2 separate regions of the Homo sapiens genome follow, and region 2 is linked to region 1. Evidence: promoter capture Hi-C in human tissues and cell types (Jung and others, 2019). All regions are on one chromosome and are shown on one strand. The core of a region is centred on a gene start or on the middle of the fragment in contact, and the rest is flanking DNA. Distances in the headings are between cores, read along the strand shown.

The links. The method cuts DNA at HindIII sites, captures the fragments that hold promoters and counts their contacts. A contact is called where the count stands out against the background at its distance.
Region 2: a fragment that was not itself captured here is called in contact with the fragment with the promoter of MTMR12 in region 1 in 1 of the 25 tissues and cell types used here (lymphoblastoid cells).

The regions. Positions count from the first base shown.
Region 1 is chr5:32,310,880-32,314,873 of GRCh38, reverse strand. MTMR12 (myotubularin related protein 12) reads left to right here and starts at 1,935. Exons shown (of 16, transcript NM_001040446.3): 1 at 1,935-2,116. The coding sequence starts at 2,036. RefSeq lists an enhancer at 1,467-1,516 and silencers at 1,607-2,396, 2,467-2,606. The HindIII fragment of the contact is 13,800 bases long and covers 1-3,994 here.
Region 2 is chr5:32,613,759-32,617,752 of GRCh38, reverse strand. No RefSeq gene overlaps it. Among named protein-coding and RNA genes, the nearest start is that of SUB1, 30 kb to the right of the region's middle. The HindIII fragment of the contact is 9,950 bases long and covers 1-3,994 here.

The DNA.
Region 1 (3,994 bases), core at 686-3,185:
GACTTGCGTTGAAACTATGTTTGCAAAAGCAAGCACATTTGTTTTCACTAAGATTTTATATTTACTTGGAGTGTATTTGGGAAGGGGGAGCACATGGAGATTAAGAGGGTAAAAATCAAGGTCACCAATGAGAGTACTTAGCACAGTGCCTGACGCCTAAAAAATTAACTGCAAATATTTATGTTTTTTTCCACTAGATTGAATTTCTTAAGAGCTGGATTCTATCTTATTTATCTGCAACTAACAACGCTTGGCACCAAATGTAGAACTGAAATGAATTTTCTTTGCAATCTTGACTAAAAAATGAGGGTTTTATCAATAACTTCGTAGAGTAAATAGAAGTCTCTTAAGGGCTCTTGATATTCTTCCTGTTGGAAACACAAAGAAGGGAAAGGTTTGGAAAAATGAAGTTGACAAAGTCTTTTATTATCAAACGCTCAAACTTATTCCTCACTGCCTTGTTAACACTTGATTTGACACTTTTTTTTTTCTGTTTGAGACACAGTCTTGCTCTGCCACCCAGGCTGGAGTGCAGTGGCGCGATCCTGGCTCACTGCAACCTTGGTTCAAGCGATTCTCGTGCCTCAGCCTCCCGAGTAGCTGGGATTACAGGCGCCCGCCACCACACCAGGCTAATTTTTGTATTTTTAGTAGAGATAGGGTTTCTCCATGTTGGCCAGGCTGGTCTCAAACTCCTGACTTCAGATGATCCACCCGCCTCGGCCTCCCAAAGTGCTGGGATTAGAGGCGTGAGTCATCGTTTGTCTCATTTTTGTTTACATTTAAAATAATAAACCTTGAGGTCGGGCGCGGTGGCTCACGCCTGTAATCCCAGCACTTCGGGAGGCCGAAGCGGGTGGATCATCTGAAGTCAGGAGTTTGAGACCAGCCTGGCCAACATGGTGAAACCCCCGTCTCCATTAAAAATACAAAAATTAGCGGCATGGCGCGGTGGCTCATGCCTCTAATCCCAACACTTTGGGAGGCTGAGGCGGGCGGATCACGAGGTTAGGGGTTTGAGACTAGCCTGGCCAACATGGTGAAACCCCGTCTCTACTAAAAATACAAAAATTAGCCGGGTGTGATGGCAGGCGCCTATAATCCCAGCTACTCGGGAGGCTGAGGCAGGAGAATCGCTTGAACCTGGGAGGCAGAGGTTGCAGTGAGCCTATACTACGCCATTGCACTCAAGCCTGGGCGACAGAACGACACACACACACACACACACACACACACACAAAATTAGCTGGATATAGTGGCGGGCGCCTGTAATCCCAGCTACTCAGGAGGCTGAGGCAAGAGAATCGCTTGAACCTGGGAGACGGAGGTTGCAATGAGCAGAGATCGCGCCATTGCACTCCAGCCTGGGCGACAAGAGCAAAACTCCGTCTCAAAAGTAAATAATAATAAAATAAAAAACCTTGAACGTCATCGCTGTAAGTTGGGAACTCCTATAGCAAGATTCCATACATCCCATTTTTGGACGTTTTATTCCAAAGACACAAGCAAACGGAAGAAAACGACTGCCGTGAACCCCTGCTAACGACAACTTGGTGACTGCAGGATCATTGGACGACGGTTTTATCCTCGCCATCCAATCGTTGGAAAGTCCGGAGAGAACGCTCTCTGGATTGGTTGGAGGAAACATCTCTCCAAGTGCACTCAAGAATGGGTTGGGAGCGGGGTTCGGCCGGCAGCGCCTCGGGCCAATCAGAGAAAGCATGAGGGCGGGCTCTGCCGCAGGAAGGTGGTGAATCTCGGCGGGTCAAACTCTCCTGACGTGATGGGGGGGCGTGGCCTCCAGTTGCGGTCTCCCGGCTCTCTGGGCCCGCGCACGGGATGGGCGGGGCCCACGGGCCTGGGCGGGGCGAGCGGTGTCAGCGGCGGAGCCGGATGCGGGCGGCATCGCGGCGGTCGCGGCCTTGGGGATGGGCGGAGCCCCAGCCGCTAGTGCTGGTGGCCGCCGCTGCTGCCCCAGCTGGAGCCCGAGCCGCCGCCTCTGCGTCCGCGCGTCGCTGCTTCCCAGGGCGGCGGTATGCTGGGGAAAGGAGTAGTCGGCGGTGGCGGCGGCACCAAGGCCCCCAAGCCCTCCTTCGTGTCGTACGTACGCCCTGAGGTGAGGGGGCGCCGCGCAGGCGGGGCGTCGGGCAGGGGCGGCCGGGGCGAGGGGCGCCGGGAGCCCCTTCCTTGCAGCGGGGAGCGCCGCGGAGCGCTTCCTGCCCTTGTGCCGGGCGACGGGGCAGCCAGGCGGGCTGAGGCCGCAGGAGCGCGCTGGGGCCTCCGCGCGGGCCGGAATGGGGACCCCGGCGCAGGCAGGCAGGTGCCTGAGCGCAGGGCCCGAGCGCTGGAGGCTGGTGGAGGGGCCCGAGCCGAGAAGGGATTGCGGCCCGGAACGCCCCTGGGGATTCTGGAGAGGACCTGGGGTTGTGGGCACTGCTGGGAGGGGTAGGGCCGTGGGTCGGAGCCCCCAACGGGGCCTGCTCGGAGCCCGCGTGGGTCCGTCCTGCCTCTGGACTTTCTCAGTGAGCCCAGAAGCCCGCCGGCCTCCGCTGCCTGCGTCTGAGTGCCTCGGGTGCGGCTGGCGGGATGCCCTGCACCTACGTCCGCCTCCCGTCAGCGCTGCGGGGAGAAAAGGGGGTCGGCCTGGCCTCAGCCAGTCTCTGCTTGTCTCTCCCTTGGGAATTCTCCGCTGTCGCTTCTTTCTCCTCATCCCCTCACCATCATCCTTTCCACCCACTTCTTACTCTTCTGAATCTTCAGGTCAAGAAATTTGTTCATTCATTCAGAAAATACTTCTCGAGCTCCTACTGTGTGTCAGGCACTAAGTGCTTGTGATAGACATCAGTGAACAGGACAGAGATCTCTGCATTCCTGGAGCTTATTTGAGGGGGAAAGGAGAAACGGGGTGAATTATAGATAATTAAGTAAATTATACGGTGTAGTAGGAGGTGATAAATATCATGGGAAAGAAAAGAAATCTTTTTCCTCCTCGCAAAGGTGGCATTTGAGCCGAGACTTGAAGATACGAGAGGTCTGAGAGAAGAGTCGTCCAGGTAGAGGGAACAGCCCCCGGGAAGGTCGTGAGGTGGGAGTGTGTCTGAAGGGTTGGCGGAGCGTCAAGGAAGCCAGCATGGCAGAGGCCCATGGACAAGGGGGACAGTCATAGGAGAGGAGGTTAGAGAGATCAGAACTTGTAGGCCTTGCTCAGGGCTTCTTGAGCAATAGTTCTTAATCCAAATGCCTAATGAGAAGCCTTCTTGTTTTGCATCTGTAAAGGTTTTTTTCTGCCCTTCTCTCCAGCAGAAGTGCAGAAGCACCGCCAAATTTGTTGCAGATGTCTTCCCACCTCTGTAATGCAGAAGCACGTGGGCTGTGGATGAGAGATCTGATCAGGGACTGCTTCCGTAAAGACCACCTGGGGCCTGAGGCATTTGCATATGTATCTTTAAATTCAAGATATGTGTGTTTTCTCCAGGGGAAAGTGCTCTTAAAATGGGTCTTATTTTTAGTCCTAGTTGTAAAATACAAACCATTTCCTCTGTTAGCACTTGATGTGGAGTCAGGGTCATCTTAAAGTTTCAGCGGGCTTCCCTTGTGGTATCACATTTAAGCAATGTGGTCAATTTCTCTTTGTGTCTTTTTAAAACATTTAAACATTTAAAAAATTTTTGTGGGTATAGTAGGTGTATATATTTAATGGGATACATGAAATATTTGGGCTGGGCATGGTGGCTGACACCTGTAATCCCAGCACTTTGGGCCGGCTGAGGTGGGTGGATCACCTGAGGTCAGAAGTTGGAGACCAGCCTGGCCAACATGGTGAAACCCTAAAATTAGCCAGGCATGGTGGTGCGCACCTGTAATCCCAGCTACTTGGGAGGCTGAGGCAGGAGAATCGCTTGAACCCAGGAGGCAGAGGTTGCAGTGAGCCGAGATCGCGCCACTGCACTACAGCTTGGGCGACAGAGCGAGACTCCATCTCAAAAAAAAAAAA
Region 2 (3,994 bases), core at 1,105-3,604, 300 kb before region 1:
CCAGCAGGACATGTCAATGGCTCCAAAGAAAATAATAAAAGCTCAGGACCCCCACCAACGGCTGCACTTGATCCCCAAAGAGCCGATCCTGCCTACTACACCCTCCTCTCCACAAAGAACATGGACTGCGGGTGTATGGAAAATGAAGGTAAAGCAATAACCACCTGTCTGACCATCATTCAGAGAGTTAAGACTAATGGGTCCTAAATGAGATGGGGGAAATGTCCAGGAGAATTTACCCACCCTATATAAGAGGAACTAGGCTTGGACAGAATTGTCCACATTAAACATAATATACAGAGAAATGCCACAATGGAATACTAAAGCAATAAATGTGAGCAAGCTATAACCACACACAACAGCATGGACAGACCTCACACACAACAGCATGGACGGACCTCACACACAACAGCACGGACGGACCTCACACACAACAGCACGGATGGACCTCACACACAAAATGCTGAATGAAAGAAGTCCAGTGCAAAAGGATACATCCTAAAAATTCTATTTAGATATTATGCTGTGAGAAGTCAGAATCCTGACTCCTCTTGTAGGGGGTAGATGTGAGCAGGGCATGTCTGTGTCTAGTGGACAGCACATTACATCTCTCCCAACTCCTGATAATTTTACCCAAGTTTTCAATTGCCTTCTTATTGACATTCCATATTTTTTTTAATTCTTGGTGCATTCTGTAACAAACTCTTTACATGTTGAAAATCATACAATATGGTATCATGCTATCTACAAGTCACTCACTGTAAAAAAGGCCTCATTGTGCAGCGATCATTCCTCAGAAAGACATTTTTGGGGGTAGTGACAGCAGTTCCTCAGTGGAGTCCAGTGGTCTCCACCCATGAATTTGCTACATCCTATCTCTCAAAATTCCTTTGTCTGAGGTCCCGTTAGTGACCCCACAGTGAACCAGGGCACACACCAAGGTTGCTTCCACCTTCATCTGACCATGAGATATTGCTGTGACTTACCCGCTCTTGTCCAAGTTCTTAGTTACAGACAAGAGAATCCAATCCAGTTGGTTAAAATAGAAAGAGATTTGTTAGTGGGTACATAGAGTTCACAGAATCATTACAAGGGCTAAAAGAAAGACTGAGCTTCCAAGAATGACTGCCAAACCACACTGTTCAACTGAACCACCAAGGAGGCTGCTACCTCTCATCAACAGGCAATGCAGAATCAGAAAGCTACTGCTCCTGTAGCCAAGAACACAGAATCAGAAAGCTGTCGCAGGCTGGGCGCGGTGGCTCATGCCTGTAATCCCAGCGCTTTGGGAGGCCGAGGTGGGCAGATCACCCGAGGTCAGGAGTTTGAGACTAGCCTGGTCAACATGGTGAAACCCCATCTCTACTAAAAATGCCAAAATTAGCCAGGCATGGTGGCGCATGCCTATAGTCCCAGCTACTAGGGAGACTGACGCAGGAGAATCGTTTGAACCCAGGAAGCAGAGGTTGCAGTGAGCCAAGAACGCGTCACTGCACTCCAACCTGGGCACCAGAGTGAGACCCTGTCTCAAGAACAGAAAAAAAGAAAGCAAGCAAGCGCCACAGACTGCTTGACTCACTGGTGCTATACCCCCAGCACCGGCGCATAGGCTATTGACATCAGCAACCTGCCAGCTGCACAGTTGCTTCTTAAACTGTTTGCTCACAGTTTTCTGAAGACAGTGCTTTTCAAACTTTAAGATGCCCACAAATTACCTGGGGTTCTTGTTAAAATCATAGATTCTGCTTCAGGAAATCTGAGGTAGGGCCTGAATTCTACATTTCTAATGAGCTTCCAGGTAAGATAGATGCCGCTGCTCTCACTCTTTAAGGAACAACATTAAGAGACATCAGCCTAATGAAATCAAGCCCTATAATCCCTTTCACCTCAATCCCACCAGTGTTCCAAGCTCCTGGGGCATCTGTCATTTGGTCTCTCACCCCTCACACTACCCTGGATCCCTGCTAACTAACCCAATCTCCCACTTTTTCCACCGTACCCTCTTTCATCAGATTCTGCACAGGCAAATTATCTAGTATTCTCAACTTCTTCTCTGAATGTTCCCTTTACTTTCCTGCTTTAACTGAAACTTACTCCCCTGAGGACGTGGATCCTGCAGCCTTCATTGAGGCTGGTGTTTTTTCTTCACTTGCATGTACCTTGAATACCAGAGGCAGGGCAGAAATTCTCCTTCTACCAAAGTTTGTTCCTCATCGCAGTGTTCCTCCTTTCCCCTTGAAAAACTACACCAGAGAAATCTTGCAGACACCACCTTGGCAAAACTATCAAAGTTGTCACCAGTAATAGGACAAATAAACATCATGTACCTCCTGATAAGATGTACTGAGAAGCCTACATCGTTTCTATGGTATCTCTATCAAAAATGCATAACCTGAATTTAATCAGCATACATCAGACAACCTAAACTCAGAGACATCCTACAAAATAAATGACATGTATGATTCCAAAATATCAAGGTCGAGAAAGAGTAAGTACTTCAATTTAGAGGAAACAGAGACATGACAAAACACACACACACACACACACACACACAATGGAGGGCTGGGCGCAGTGGCTCACGCCTGTAATCCCAGCACTTTGGGAAGCTGAGGCAGGCAGATCACAAGGTCAGGAGTTCAAGACCAGCCTGGCCAACATGGTGAAACCGCGTCTCTACTAAAAATACAAAAAATTAGCTGAGCACATTGGCGAGTGCCTGTAATCCCAGCTACTCAGGAGGCTGAGGCAGGAGAATTTCTTGAAAACTGGAGGTGGAGGTTGCAGTGAGCCGAGATCCTGCCATTTCACTCCAGCCTGGGCGACAGAGTGAGACTCCATCTCAAAAAAAAAAAAAAAAAAAAAAAAAAAAACACACAATGGGAGATTCTGGATTGGATCTGAGACCAAAAATGAGGATACTGGTGGGACAGTTGTAAAATTGGTACCATTAGATAATTGTATCAATGTTAGTTTCCTGCATTTGATAATTGTACTGTGGTTACATAAGATATTAACAATTTGAGTGAAGTAGGAATTTGAGTGAAGTACTTACAGAAATCCTTTGTACTGTTTCTACACTTTTCTTTAAAGTCTGAAGTTATTTCAAAACAAAAAGAACTTGGCCAGGCGCGGTGACTCACGCCTGTAATCCCAGCACTTTGGGAGGCTGAGGCAGGTGGATCCCTTGAGCCCAGGAGTTTGAGACCAGCCTGGCCGACATGGCGAAACCCCATCTCTACTAAAAATACAAAAATTAGCCAGGCAAGGTGGCACACACCTGTAATCCCAGCTACTCTGGAGGATGAGGCAGGAGAATCGCTTGAACCCGGGAGGTGGAGATTATTTGAAGTCCACGCCCGCCGACTGGACCTATGAAGCCTCCATGCACATAGTGAGTATTAGCCTGCACTAACACTAACACTAACAAACGCTACCAAATGTGCACTAACACTGCCAGATAACCTTTCTTCATGTTCCTGGTAAACTCACAATCCCACTGTTGAAGAAATCAAGTTTGGATTGTGTTTAGAATAGTGCTTTTGGAAATACTTCACTGATGGCATTCCAATTGGCCATGCTCAGCCAATTGTTAGAGTTGGCTATTTATGAAGGATTGAAGAAAAATACTAGAAAATATAGCCTCACTTTATTTTATATAAAAGTTAAAAATTAATATCCTGGTTGAGCATGGTGGCTCACACCTGTAATCCTAACGCTTTGGGAGGCCAAGGCTGGGGAATTGCTTGAGCCCAGGAGCTCAAAACCTGTCCAGGTAACATAGCAAGACCCCCATCTCTACAAAAAGTCAAAAAAAAAAAAAGCAATGATGGCATGCATCTGTAGTTCCAGCTACTTGGGAGGCTGAGGTGGGGGAATCACTTGAGCCTAGGAGTTCAAGACTATAGTGAGCTATGACCAAGCCACTGTACTCCAGCCTGGGTGACAGAGTGAGACCTTGTTTCAAAAAATAAAATAAAGTATCTTCCCCCACCCT